Regions from separate parts of the Homo sapiens genome. Here all the other regions are linked to region 1. The links are contacts of gene promoters, found by promoter capture Hi-C in blood cells and fetal thymus (Javierre and others, 2016). All regions are on one chromosome and are shown on one strand. The core of a region is centred on a gene start or on the middle of the fragment in contact, and the rest is flanking DNA. Distances in the headings are between cores, read along the strand shown.

The links. The method cuts DNA at HindIII sites, captures the fragments that hold promoters and counts their contacts. A CHiCAGO score of 5 or more calls a contact.
Region 2: a fragment that was not itself captured here is called in contact with the fragment with the promoter of RSBN1L in region 1 in 2 of 17 cell types (fetal thymus and neutrophils); the score reaches 5.1 in fetal thymus.
Region 3: the fragment with the promoter of YWHAG here is called in contact with the fragment with the promoter of RSBN1L in region 1 in 4 of 17 cell types (total CD4 T cells, monocytes, naive CD8 T cells and 1 more); the score reaches 10.2 in total CD4 T cells.

What each region holds. Positions count from the first base shown.
Region 1 is chr7:77,694,540-77,698,318 of GRCh38, reverse strand. RSBN1L (round spermatid basic protein 1 like) reads right to left here and starts at 1,860. Exons shown (of 8, transcript NM_198467.3): 1 at 1,264-1,860. The coding sequence starts at 1,849. It overlaps APTR (Alu-mediated CDKN1A/p21 transcriptional regulator), which reads left to right and starts at 2,054. Exons shown (of 2, transcript NR_134254.1): 1 at 2,054-2,423. RefSeq lists silencers at 640-739, 1,030-1,349, 1,820-2,039 and enhancers at 1,560-1,789, 974-1,869, 1,870-2,765. The HindIII fragment of the contact is 2,163 bases long and covers 349-2,511 here.
Region 2 is chr7:76,319,101-76,322,879 of GRCh38, reverse strand. FPASL (fibroblast proliferation associated lncRNA) reads right to left here. Exons shown (of 2, transcript NR_186616.1): 1 at 2,433-3,779; 2 at 594-1,161. Among named protein-coding and RNA genes, the nearest start is that of FPASL, 2.7 kb to the right of the region's middle. RefSeq lists an enhancer at 3,770-3,779. The HindIII fragment of the contact is 7,938 bases long and covers 1-3,779 here.
Region 3 is chr7:76,357,391-76,361,169 of GRCh38, reverse strand. YWHAG (tyrosine 3-monooxygenase/tryptophan 5-monooxygenase activation protein gamma) reads left to right here and starts at 2,179. Exons shown (of 2, transcript NM_012479.4): 1 at 2,179-2,448. The coding sequence starts at 2,362. RefSeq lists silencers at 1,845-2,254, 2,575-2,774, 2,858-3,048 and an enhancer at 2,104-2,750. The HindIII fragment of the contact is 9,671 bases long and covers 1-3,779 here.

The DNA of each region.
Region 1 (3,779 bases), core at 611-3,110:
ACCAAAATCCCATCCTCAAAACCACTTTCCTAGAAACAACACTCCCAGAAGCTGAAAGATATTTACATTGCACCAGAGTCCCTGATGGCTATGCTTAGATGTTAAAGCTTTGCTACAGGCAAAAAATATCAAGGAAGAAGTGACACTATTGCTACATGCACATGCAGCATGTTTTAAGTTGTGAAAACAAACCATTATAATCCAAACAGAATTTTTCATGATCTGAGCTACTGTTAGATCAGCAATGCTGAAACTGCTTGACATTTCTTTTTCTAAAAAACAAAAAGAGTTATTTGACAACACTGTGTAGCAGTGCACATTTATAATAAAGATTATGCGCTTTAAGCTTGCGATCACATAAAGATTTGATTTTCAACTAGTCCGTATGTTGCACTATTGTCAGATCATTGTGTATCCGTAGCTGAAGTGGTGGAAACACCTGAAAAATTATACGACTAGCCTACATTTAAAAACAAAACTGACCCTGTCTGACAAGAACCCTTAAGAATTCGCCTTTTTCTAATGCTCAAACATTCTGCAGCCGCTTGATCTGGCGAAAAATCGTCAAAGCTCCTGGTTTTATCATTTGCTGCAGGGAAAAAAAGAATATGGCTGAAAATTCTTTCAGAAGGGTGGTATTTCAAACAGGACCACCCAAAACACTTAAGAATACGCAGCGGAGAGTAGGGTGCAGGGAGGGTACCTTACGAAACAGCGCACTTCGGGCCCTGCACGCTACCTCATTTCCCTAATAGGGATGAAAAGCTCAGGCCTCTGGTAGCTTCCAGCTGACGCCAGTGCTCTCTCCACACCCCTTTTTTGACAGGATTATCCGGGGTTGAACGCTGTGTCACAAATACGAATTCCCGCGACCACGTCTAAGTGGTCTAACAATCAATCAAGCATCTTTTACAAAACCAAACCCTTCCCCCATCCCGTTCCCTCCATCTCTCTCCCTAGCCAAACAAACCTAGGAGAGTCCTCAAGATGGATTTTCACAAATCCTGCAGCGCACTAACTGGGAGGAAGAAACGATACAGAAAATAAGAGTGTCGGCCATCCCCCTCTCTGCAACCGAAATTACAGGCTCCATTTCCTGTCCCCTTGGGAACTGCAAAATCCTCTGCTGAAAACCGGACGCCTCCCAGCCCCTCCAGGCCGGCGCACGCGGCCGCCGCGCTCCCCCTTCCCGGGCCCCGTGGGCGCCAGGGGGCGGCGGGGACCCACGGCGCCCTCCCCTCCCCCTCCCCGCACGGCACCCACCTCGGGGCAGCGGCTTCACCTCCCCGTTCTCCTCCCGGGAGGCCCCGCCGGCCTCTCGGGCCCCACCGAGACCGTGCCTCCTCCTCTCCTTCTCCCGCTTCTCCTTAGGTCTGCGCGACTTGGCGTTAGCCGAGGCAGCGGCGGCGGCGGCGGGCAGGAGGAGATGGTGAGGCTGAGCGTGCAGCAGCGTAGGAGGGACCAGCAGTTTGCGCGGCACCGGCTGAGACAAGGAAGCGGAGGCTGAGGAGGGAACGGCCGTGCCAGCGGAGAAAGAGAAACTGCTCCGAGAAGAGGACGGGGAGGGAGCAGCAGACAGAGGGGCAAAGCTCCAAGACGCGGGGCTGCCATAGCTCTGAGGCGAAGGTGCTGCCGGCGGCTGCAGCTGCCTGCTGTTCCCGCCGCTGCCCCCTTCTCCGTTCACTCTCCGCGGTGCCTTCTTCTCCTCAGTCCGGACCTTCTTGGCGGACAGAGAACCCGGAGGGTCCCGGGAGGAGAGTTGCAGCTTGCCAAACGGTTCTTTCTCCGAGACGGTGGCGGTGGGGGCCGCGGCAGCGACACAGTGCACGGGGCTCGGCGGTTCCGCCATTTTGCGCTCCTGTTGTATTTACTCTCCTCCGCTAGCCGGCGCGGGGCAGGGGGCGGGCCCTCCGCGAGGGGTAGGGAAGGGGCGGAGCGGCCAGGCCACCAGCCGGCATTGCTCCATTGGGCAAGCCACGCTGAGGGATCCACCTAAGAGCCAATCAAAGGCACAAACATCAGACGAAGGGGCGGGATCGCCACAGGGACCCTCTTCGGAGGTCAGAGCTCGGCGGGGTGCGGCTAGTGGCGGAGCGCGCTGCGAGGGGAGGGCTTTCCACTGTCGCTGGCGTGAACTCGCGTGCCCGGTGGGTATCAGGGAAGAACCCCCGCCCCGGACCCCCAGATCTGCCATGGCCGAGGTAGCGATCGTCTCTGCGGCCACGAAGACTGTTTTAACTTGTACCACTTTCCCTTCCATTTTTCCTGGGGTGCCTCTCACCCTGCATCTGCGCGTTCAGCAAGCTGGATTTCGGGAATGCTCAGTTCAGAAGAGAAAAAATTGCCGGGAATCAAGTCCTTCTTTTTGTTAGTCGGTAGTCGATTGATGGGAAGTGTTCAAAATCATTCGATGTGGTGACAAGGTACGTTATTATTGCTAGATCATGTGCTGTAATCCATTGAAGGAGATAACTTCCAGCAAATCTAGAACTTTAGTATTACTTACAAGCTTGAAGGTGAGAGTCTCCCTTTGGAGACTTTTGAACTGTTGTGACTAGACCCTTAAGATTTTTATTTTATTTATTTATTTATTTATTGGGACGGAGTTTTGCTCTGTTGTCGAGGCTGGAGTGCCGTGGCGCGATCTCGGCTCACCGCAACCTCCGCCTCCCAGATTCAAGCGATTCTCCTGCCTCAGCCTCCCCAGTAACAGGGACTACAGGCGTCCGGCACCATGCTTGGCTAATTTTTGTGTTTATTAGAGACGGGGTTTCACCATGTTGGCCAGGCTGGACTCGAACTCCTGATCTCAGGTGAGCGGCCCACCTCCGCTTCCCAAAGTGCTGGGATTACAGGCGTGAGCCACCATGTGCGGCCTTAAGATTTGAATTTTATAATAATTATTATAGCCGGGCGCGGTGGCTCACACCTGTAATCCCAGCACTTTGGGAGACCGGGGCGGGCGGATCACGAGGTCAGAAGTTCGAGACCAGCCTGACCAACATGGTGAAACCCCGTCTCTACTAAAAATGCAAAAATTAGCTGGGCATGGAAGCGCGCACCTGTAATCCCAGCTACTGGGGAGGCTGGGGCAGGAGAATCGCTTGAACCCAGGAGGCGGAGGTTGCAGTGAGCCGAGACTGCGCCACTGCACTCCAGCTTGGGCGACAGGGCAAGACTCCGTCTCAAAAAATAATAATAATAATAATAATATTATTATTATTATAACGTAGACTTGCCAGGAAAAATTCGTTGGCGATTATTTATGGATGTTTGAAAAGCAAGAATTGTTTTTTTAGGTTTCTGTATTTTAGCGTTTAGTAAGCACACTGCGTGTTCGATGTTTTGTAAGCATGTGCTTTGATTTTTGCTTCGAAAATAAGCAATTTGGGGAGATGGGTTTTAGCTTAAAAGATAAGGAATGTGGCCGGGCGCGGTGGCTCATACCTGTAATCCCAGCACTTTGGGAGGCCAAGGCGGGCAGATCACAATGTCAGGAGTTCGAGACCAGCCTGGCCAACATAGTGAAACCCTGCCTCTACTAAAAATACATAATTAGCTGGGCGTAGTGGCATGCGCCTGTAGTCCCAGCTACTCTGGAGGCTGAGGCAGAAGAATCCCTTGAATCTGTAAGGCAGAGGTTGCAGTAAGCTGAGTTCGTGCCATTGCACTCCACCCGGGGCGACAGTGCCTATTTACTCATTTTTTTAAGAATATTTTTAAGAATTTTTTTTTTTTCGGCCAAGAGTGGTGGGTGGCTCACGCATGTAATCCCAAGA
Region 2 (3,779 bases), core at 770-3,269, 1.4 Mb after region 1:
AATCAGAACATTAACATGTGGCATACCAGCTTGCTAATTAGCCCACTGGTTTGAATTTTCCAACTCTGATGTGGATAAACGTGGTTGAATCTGAATGGCCACAAGCTGTACCTCTCATTAACCACACAGCGCTGTGGTCAGTGAGGAGTTAGGGTGAGAGTAGCTGGATCACACTGGCAAGACAATGAGTCAAGACATCTCAGGTTATGTAAGGGACTCACGTGGCACTCTGTTATCCTGTTATCCAGAGTATTGGAGAGGAAAGGCCGTAGGAATTTGAGGAACACTATGACTTGGGGCCTTTTTTTTTTTTTTTTGGAAAGACAGAATCTCACTCTTGCACAGGCTGGAATGCAGTGGCATGATCACAACTCACTGCAGCTTCTACCTCCTGGGCTCAAATGATCCTCCTATCTCAGCCTTCTGAGTCGCCGGGACCATAGGTGCGTACCACCACCACACACACCTGGCTAATTTTTGGATTGTTTGTAGAATTGAGGTCTTGCTATACTGCCCAGGCTGGTCTTGAACTCCTGGCCTCAGGCAATCCTCCCATCTCAGCCTCCCAAAGTGCTGGGATTACAGACATGAGCCACTGTGCCCAGCTGGTTTTTATTTTTTGAATTGGCAGTGCACACACGTTACAAAAGTGTGAGGCGGCCGTATACAGCCCACAATGCTTGACATATTTACCCTCTGGCCAGTAGTTTGCAGACCCCTGGTTTATCAGAAACTCTTCCCAGCATGCCCATTACCTGATCACCCATTAATTGCCATTCTTAGAGGTAACTACTGCCATCCATTCTTCTAATTTGGTTGAGCTTGAAATAGGATTTTTGCTGCCTTTGAGCACTGATGTGACTCTGGCCTTGTGATTTTAAATATAGATAGTTGAAATTTGGTGGTCCCAAAACAGATATCTTGAATTAGAATATTTAATTCCATTTAAAGGGTAGTTAGGTGGTATTGGGGCACTTGAATCCCAAACACAAAAATTGAAAAGAACGTTACAGTGATTGGCTACAGACCCACTCCTTGATATGGCAGATAAATTCCTCTATGGGTTGTGGAACCTTGAAAGTCACTGTTGGCATTTTACTCCCAATGTTCATATTTCTCCTTACAAAAAGGACATTCTCGGCCAGGCGCAGTGGCTCACGCCTGTAATCCCACCACTTTGGGAGGCCGAGGCGGGCGGATCACCTGAGGTCAGCAGTTCGAGACCAGCCTGGCCAACATGGCGAAACCCTGTCTCTGCTAAAAATACAAAAAAATTAACTGGGTGTGGTGGCTCGTGCCTGTAGTCCCAGCTACTTGGGAAGCTGAGACACAAGAATTGCTTAAACCCAGGAGGCAGAGGTTGCAGTGAGCTGACATCACGCCACTGCACTCCAACCTGGGCAACCGTGAGACCCTGTCTCAAAAAAAAAAAAAAAAAAGGACATTCTCTAATATAACCGCCATACTGTTATCACCCAATTAATAATTCCCTAATATCAGCCCATATGCAAATTTCTCCAAATTGTCCTCAGAATGCATTTGATAGCTTTTTCCAATCCCCCTCCCGCACCACCTAGACTCCAATTAAAATTCATTAATTGCATTTCAATATTAGATTTCTTTGCCTATTTTTTTTTTTTTTTAAGAGACAGGGTCTCAGTTGCCCTGGTTGGAGTGCTTTGGACAATCAGAGCTCACTGCAGCCTCCAACTCATGGACTCAAACAGTCCTCCCAACTCAGTCTCCCGAGTAGCTGGGACCACAGGGCTGCACTACCACTTCCGGCTAATTTTTTTCTTTTTTTTTTTTCAACATGGCCTTCCAATAAATCTATTTTTATTTTTTGTAAAGATGGGTATGTTGTCTAGGCTGTTCCTGAATTTCTGGCCTCAAGTGATCCTCTCACCTTGGCCTCCCAAAGTGTTAGAATTAATGGGCATGAGCCACCACGCCTGGGCCTGATAATGGCTTGAGACCAGGCTACTTGACAGTCTCAAGGCCCCACGTTCTGGGTTTGTCCAGTTGTCTGTGCCTATGTCATTTAGCTTGTTTCCTGCCCTTGTTGGGGTACTTTTTTTGTCTTAAGAACTTTGCTTTCTCCTCCATTTAACCTTCTCACTGGTTCACTCTGTGTTTTTTTTTTTTTGTTTTTTTTTTGAGATGGAGTCTCGCTGTGTCACCCAGGCTGGAGTGCAGTGGTGCGATCTTGGCTCTCGGCAAGCTCCGCCTCCTGGGTTCACACCATTCTCCTGCCTCAGCCTCCCAAGTAGCTGGGACTACAGGCACCCACCACCACGCTCGGCTAATTTTTTGTATTTTTAGTAGAGACGGGATTGCACCATGTTAGCCAGGATGGTCTCGATCTCCTGACCTTGTGATCCACCCACCTCGGCCTCCCAAAGTGCTGGGATTACAGGCGTGAGCCACCACGCCCGGCTACTCTGTGCTCTTAAGCAACTACCAGCAGCAGAGCCTGTTACCTAAGCGGACAAGGCCAAAGCCACTGCTCTGAAAGGCCAGAGGGATTGGCCACTACCCATGGGGACCATCTTGTTTTCTGACTGGAGTCTTCTGGGCTCGGGGATTTGCCTCCTCAATCCTCTCCTGCCTCCCCTGGATGGGAAAAGTACAGTATTAGGTGGTTTAATAAGCACTGGCTTTGACTCACATCCTCACTTGGCCCACTGGGTCCTGGTGGTCTGCAGCTGTTCTGCCCCTATGCCTGGGGGAGGTGGGGAGACAGCACAGCCCACCTTATTCACTAGAGTTAACTCAGGAACCAGAAGCATGCCTGAGACACTTCTTTCATACTGGATCTACACTAGGGGAATCACAATCTTGGTGTTAAATTAGTTCTTCCCACTGTGGTCGGCAAATTACCCTACCACTCATTGGCTTGTAGGAGCTGAGAAGATAAATGAAAGCCTTTTTTTTTTTTGAGACGGAGTCTCGCACTATTGCCCGGGGTTGGAGTGCAATGGCGTGATACCAGCTCACTGCAACCTCCGCCTCCTGGGTTCACGTTGATTCTCCTGCCTCAGCCTCCCGAGTAGCTGGGATTACAGGCATCCACCACCATGCCTGGCTAATTTTTTTGTATTTTTAGTAGAAACAGGGTTTCACTATGTTGGCCAGGCTGGTCTTGAACTCCTGACCTCGTGATCCGCCCGCCTTGGCCTCCCAAAGTGCTGGGATTACCAGGCATAAGCCACCGTGCCTGGCCACAAGAAAGCCTCTTTTTACTCACTTAACCTGAAGCCAGATTTTAGAGATGAGGTTTCATTGGTTGTCAGTTTTTTTGTTTTGTTTTGAGACAGGATCTCGCTCTGTTGACCAGGCTGGAGTGCAGTGGTGCAGTCATAGCTCACTGCAGCCTCCACCTGCTGGACTCAAAGCAATCCTGTTTCAGCGTCCCAAGTAGCTGGGCTATCTGGCCTGGCTAATTTTTAAATTCTTTTTGTAGAGACTGGGTTTTACTATACTATGTTGCCCAGGCTGGTCTTGAACGCCTGGGCTTAAGCGATCCTCCTGCCTCGGTCTCCCAAAGTGTTGGGATTACAGGTGTGAGCCACCATGCCCAGCTGGGTTATGTTCTTTAAAGCCAGATAGCAAACTCACTTTTTATTCCATTAGGTTTATCAAAGCAGACTGCCTTCCAAGAGACGGTATTTTTTAGTGTTAAGTTGACAAGGGGTTTTGCCTGCTAAGTTTGCCGAGTAAATCCTCGGACAAGGATTGTGGGTAGTGGGCAGACCAAGAGTGAGAAATATTCTCTTGCC
Region 3 (3,779 bases), core at 930-3,429, 1.3 Mb after region 1:
GCTCAATAGTAATGTCAAAGAACACGGTGGGATTGACCATGGCCAGTAGTAGAGTACTCCTGGCAGCAGCAGAGTCTGCAAAGCTCACTTTTTTTTTGTTTTGTTTTTTGATATGGAGTTTCGCTCTTGTTGCCCAGGCTGAAGTGCAATGAAACGATCTCGGCTCACTGCAACCTCCACCTCCCAGGTTCAAGCAATTCTCCTGCCTCAGCCTCCCAAGTAGCTGGGATTACAGGTGCCCACCACCACACCCAGCTAATTTTTGTATTTTTAGTTGAGATGGGGTTTTGCTACGTTAGCCAGGCTGGTCTCGAACTCCTGACCTCAGATGATCCACCCGCTTCGGCCTCCCAAAGTGTTGGGATTACAGGTGTGAGTCACCGTGCCAGGCCAAAGCTCACTTCTTTTTTTTTTTCGAGACGGAGTCTCGCTCTGTCACCCATGCTGGAGTGCAGTAGAGGGATCTCAGCTCACTGCAACCTCCGACTCCCGGGTTCAAGTGATTCTCCTGCCTCAGCCTCCCGAGTAGCTGGGATAACAGGTGGGCACCACCACGCCCAGCTAGTTCTTTTGTATTTTTTGTAGAGACAGGGTTTCACCATGTTGGCCAGGATGGTCTCGATCTCCTGACCTTGTCATCCGCCCGCCTCGGTCTCCCAAAGTGCTGGGATTACAGGTGTGAGTCACCGTGCCCAGCCTTTAAAAAACTTTTTATTTTATTATTTGTTTTTGAAACGGAGTCTTGCTCTGTCGCCAGACTGGAGTGCAGTGGCGCAATCTCAGCTCACTGCAACCTCAAAACTCACTCCTTACTGACTTCTAGCATACTGTACATATCTCACCTATTTTCTTGGGCAGGGATTTTTGTCTGTTTTGTTCACTACTGTACCTCGTGGCTTAGAATAGGGCTTGGAACACAGTAGCTTCTCATAGATAATTGTTGAATACATAAAGTAAATAAAATGTGCAGTCAAAACTATCAGGCCTGCAGGCATGGTGGCTCACATCTGTAATCCCAGCACCTTGGGAGGCCGAGGCGTGAGGATCGCTTGAGCCCAGGAGTTCGAGACCAGCATGGGCAACAAAGCTAGACCCCCGTCTCTACAAAAAAGCAAAACAAAGCAAAAAAACCCATGCTATCTGCAAGCTATGTGGAATAATATGAACGAGAATATATCAGCGTGACCTCAGTAGGTATGTATGTCTTAGGAGGGGAGAGAAGGGCTGGACAACCAAGCCCTAGACGCAGCCCAGTTAGATGTGGAGTAGGCTCCTGGTAGCTGAACTCAATCTTTAGCACTCCACCCTGGAGAGGAAGAAGGGGTTCTCCAGGGTCAGCCAGCAGACAGCTGCATCCTTTCTGGAAATCAACCACTGTGGCCAGCCGGTATTTGTCGTTCGTCCATGTTTTCACCTATTCAGGCCCAAGAGCCTCAAGGTGGGGTGGGGGGTTTAATGGAAGCTCGTAGGGGGTGGAGGTGACAGTCCCCAGGGTCTGGCCCCTTAATTCGGCCATCCCGCGGGCAGGCACCACACTGAGAGTCTGGATCTACAATGGACGCGCCTCCTGTCCTTCCCCCACCACGACCTGCTACGTGATCTCGGAAACAGGGTCTAGGACTGAGGCCCCTGCCCCCTCCTCTCGTAATTTCCCGGAGAATATGGGGCGGGGCGGTGAATCAGCACTCGCAGGGACTGATGCAGCCCTGATCCCCGCCAGGGGTCCCCAGCGGCCTCGGGATTCGAAGCACCCCCCCCCGTCCTCCTGCGCCTGCGCGCTATGTCCGCTGGGAGTTGTAGTCTTGACCGCCCCTTTGTCCTTGGTCTCCTCAGCGCCTCAGTGCACTGCAGGTTACACTACAACTCCCAGGGGCCCATGCGTCCGAGGGCTGGCGGGGCGGGAGGCTCAAGGGGGAGGCGTAAGGGGGCGACTGGAGAAGCTGGGGTGAGGGAACTGGGGAGTGAAGTGAAAAAAGGGGAGAGTGGGGGCGCAGTGGGAAAGGACGGGGTGCCCGGAAGACGCGCAGTGAGCCCAGCTGGGGAGCGGGGAGTTCTAGCCGCGGCCGGGCTCGGGCGGGGCATGGGCGGGGCTTGCGGACGGGTGGGCGGGGCCTGCCTTCGTCATGCGGCGTGGGCGGGGCCGCAGGGGGTTGTCCGTCAGTGGCACGCACAGCAGCCGCAGCCGCCTCGCGCCCGGTCCCGCGGTCGCAGCTCCAGCCGCCTCCTCCGCGCAGCCGCCGCCTCAGCTGCTCGCTCTGTGGGTCGGTCCTCTCCGGCACTTGGGCTCCAGTCGCGCCCTCCAAGCCCTTCAGGCCGCCCCAGTGTCCTCCTCCTTCTCCGGCCAGACCCAGCCCCGCGAAGATGGTGGACCGCGAGCAACTGGTGCAGAAAGCCCGGCTGGCCGAGCAGGCGGAGCGCTACGACGACATGGCCGCGGCCATGAAGAACGTGAGTGTCTCCTCCCCTCCCCCGCCGCTCCCTGCCCCTCCGAAGACGCGGTCCTTGGCGTGGAAGGCCCGGGGCTTCGTCGCCCTGTCGCGATGGCGGGTTGACCGCCCCGTCTCGCTCACTGAGGGGGGCTGGGGAGGGTCCCGAGAGGCGACGGGAACCCGGGCTGTGACGCGGCCTCTTTTCGGAGTCCCCGTGGCCCCGCGGCGCTGCCATTCAGGCCCGGCGCGGGCGCGGGCCGGGGCGAGGTCCCGCGGGGCTGGACTTGGGAGCGGGGTCTCCGGCCCCCGCGGCTCTAGGGGTGCAGGGGACCCGAGCGGGGAGGCGTGCGCATCCTTTGTGCCCCACTTCCCCCCTCCTCCTAGCCTGGGCGTGGGGGCGGGGGACCGCATGGATGCGGTTCCTCTTTCTCTCCCTGGTGTCTGGGCGGCGCCTTTCCCATTCACTCAGCAGGTCTCCCGGTTTTCCACCTCCCCAGCCCCCCCAGAATCTTCCCCACTGTCTGTCCCGACACATCCCTGAGAATCTTCCCAGAAACATTGTATAGGGTCTCTTGAAAACCTGAGCTCCGTGGTGCAAAATCGAAACCACCTTGCTCACGTTTTTCTTAACAAAAGGCTCTTCTTTCTCCATTCGCCCAAAGCAAGTCCTCCGGCTTTTAGGAAGGGAGAACGTTTGTCTCGCTAGCGTTTTCATTGATCATTCTCAACATGTCATCTCCATTTTATTCCCTAATGTTTTTGTATTGAAAAGGGTAGGTATTGCCTGTAAAATTAAAAGGTGGTGAATGTAGCTGACTGGTTCGATTCGTGTGACATATGCCGTTTCTTTTTTGAATACAGGCACGCGTCTGTTGAAATTCCTATAAGTTGGGGGAAAAAATATTCTGTCTGATCTGATAGTGCAAACAAAGCCGTGGTGAGAGGCAGTATCAAGTCATTCCAGAAGATTCTGCATTTGTCATATTGCAGAGAGCCTAGACTGGGTGGAGGCTGGGAGGAGTTATTTTAAAGGGGAAAAAGTCTTTTTAAAAATTTTTGGTTGTTAGATGCATCTGAGGCTTTTTTTTGTTTAAGCGAGTACATCTTCATGCTGATGAAAAGAGAATACCGATCGCCAGTTGTCGCATTTTGTCTGGGTTGCAGATTCATCCCTGTATTGCACCATTTTGTCAGTAACACCACATTTATCTAATGGGCTGTCAACCAGTTTGATATTAGAGGAGGGGGAAGTATTGAGCATTATGAAATGAAAGGTAGAAAATTAATCTAATGATTTCGGGCCCCCACTATCTTAATATTTAATTTCCTGCCTTATGTAACAAAGATTTT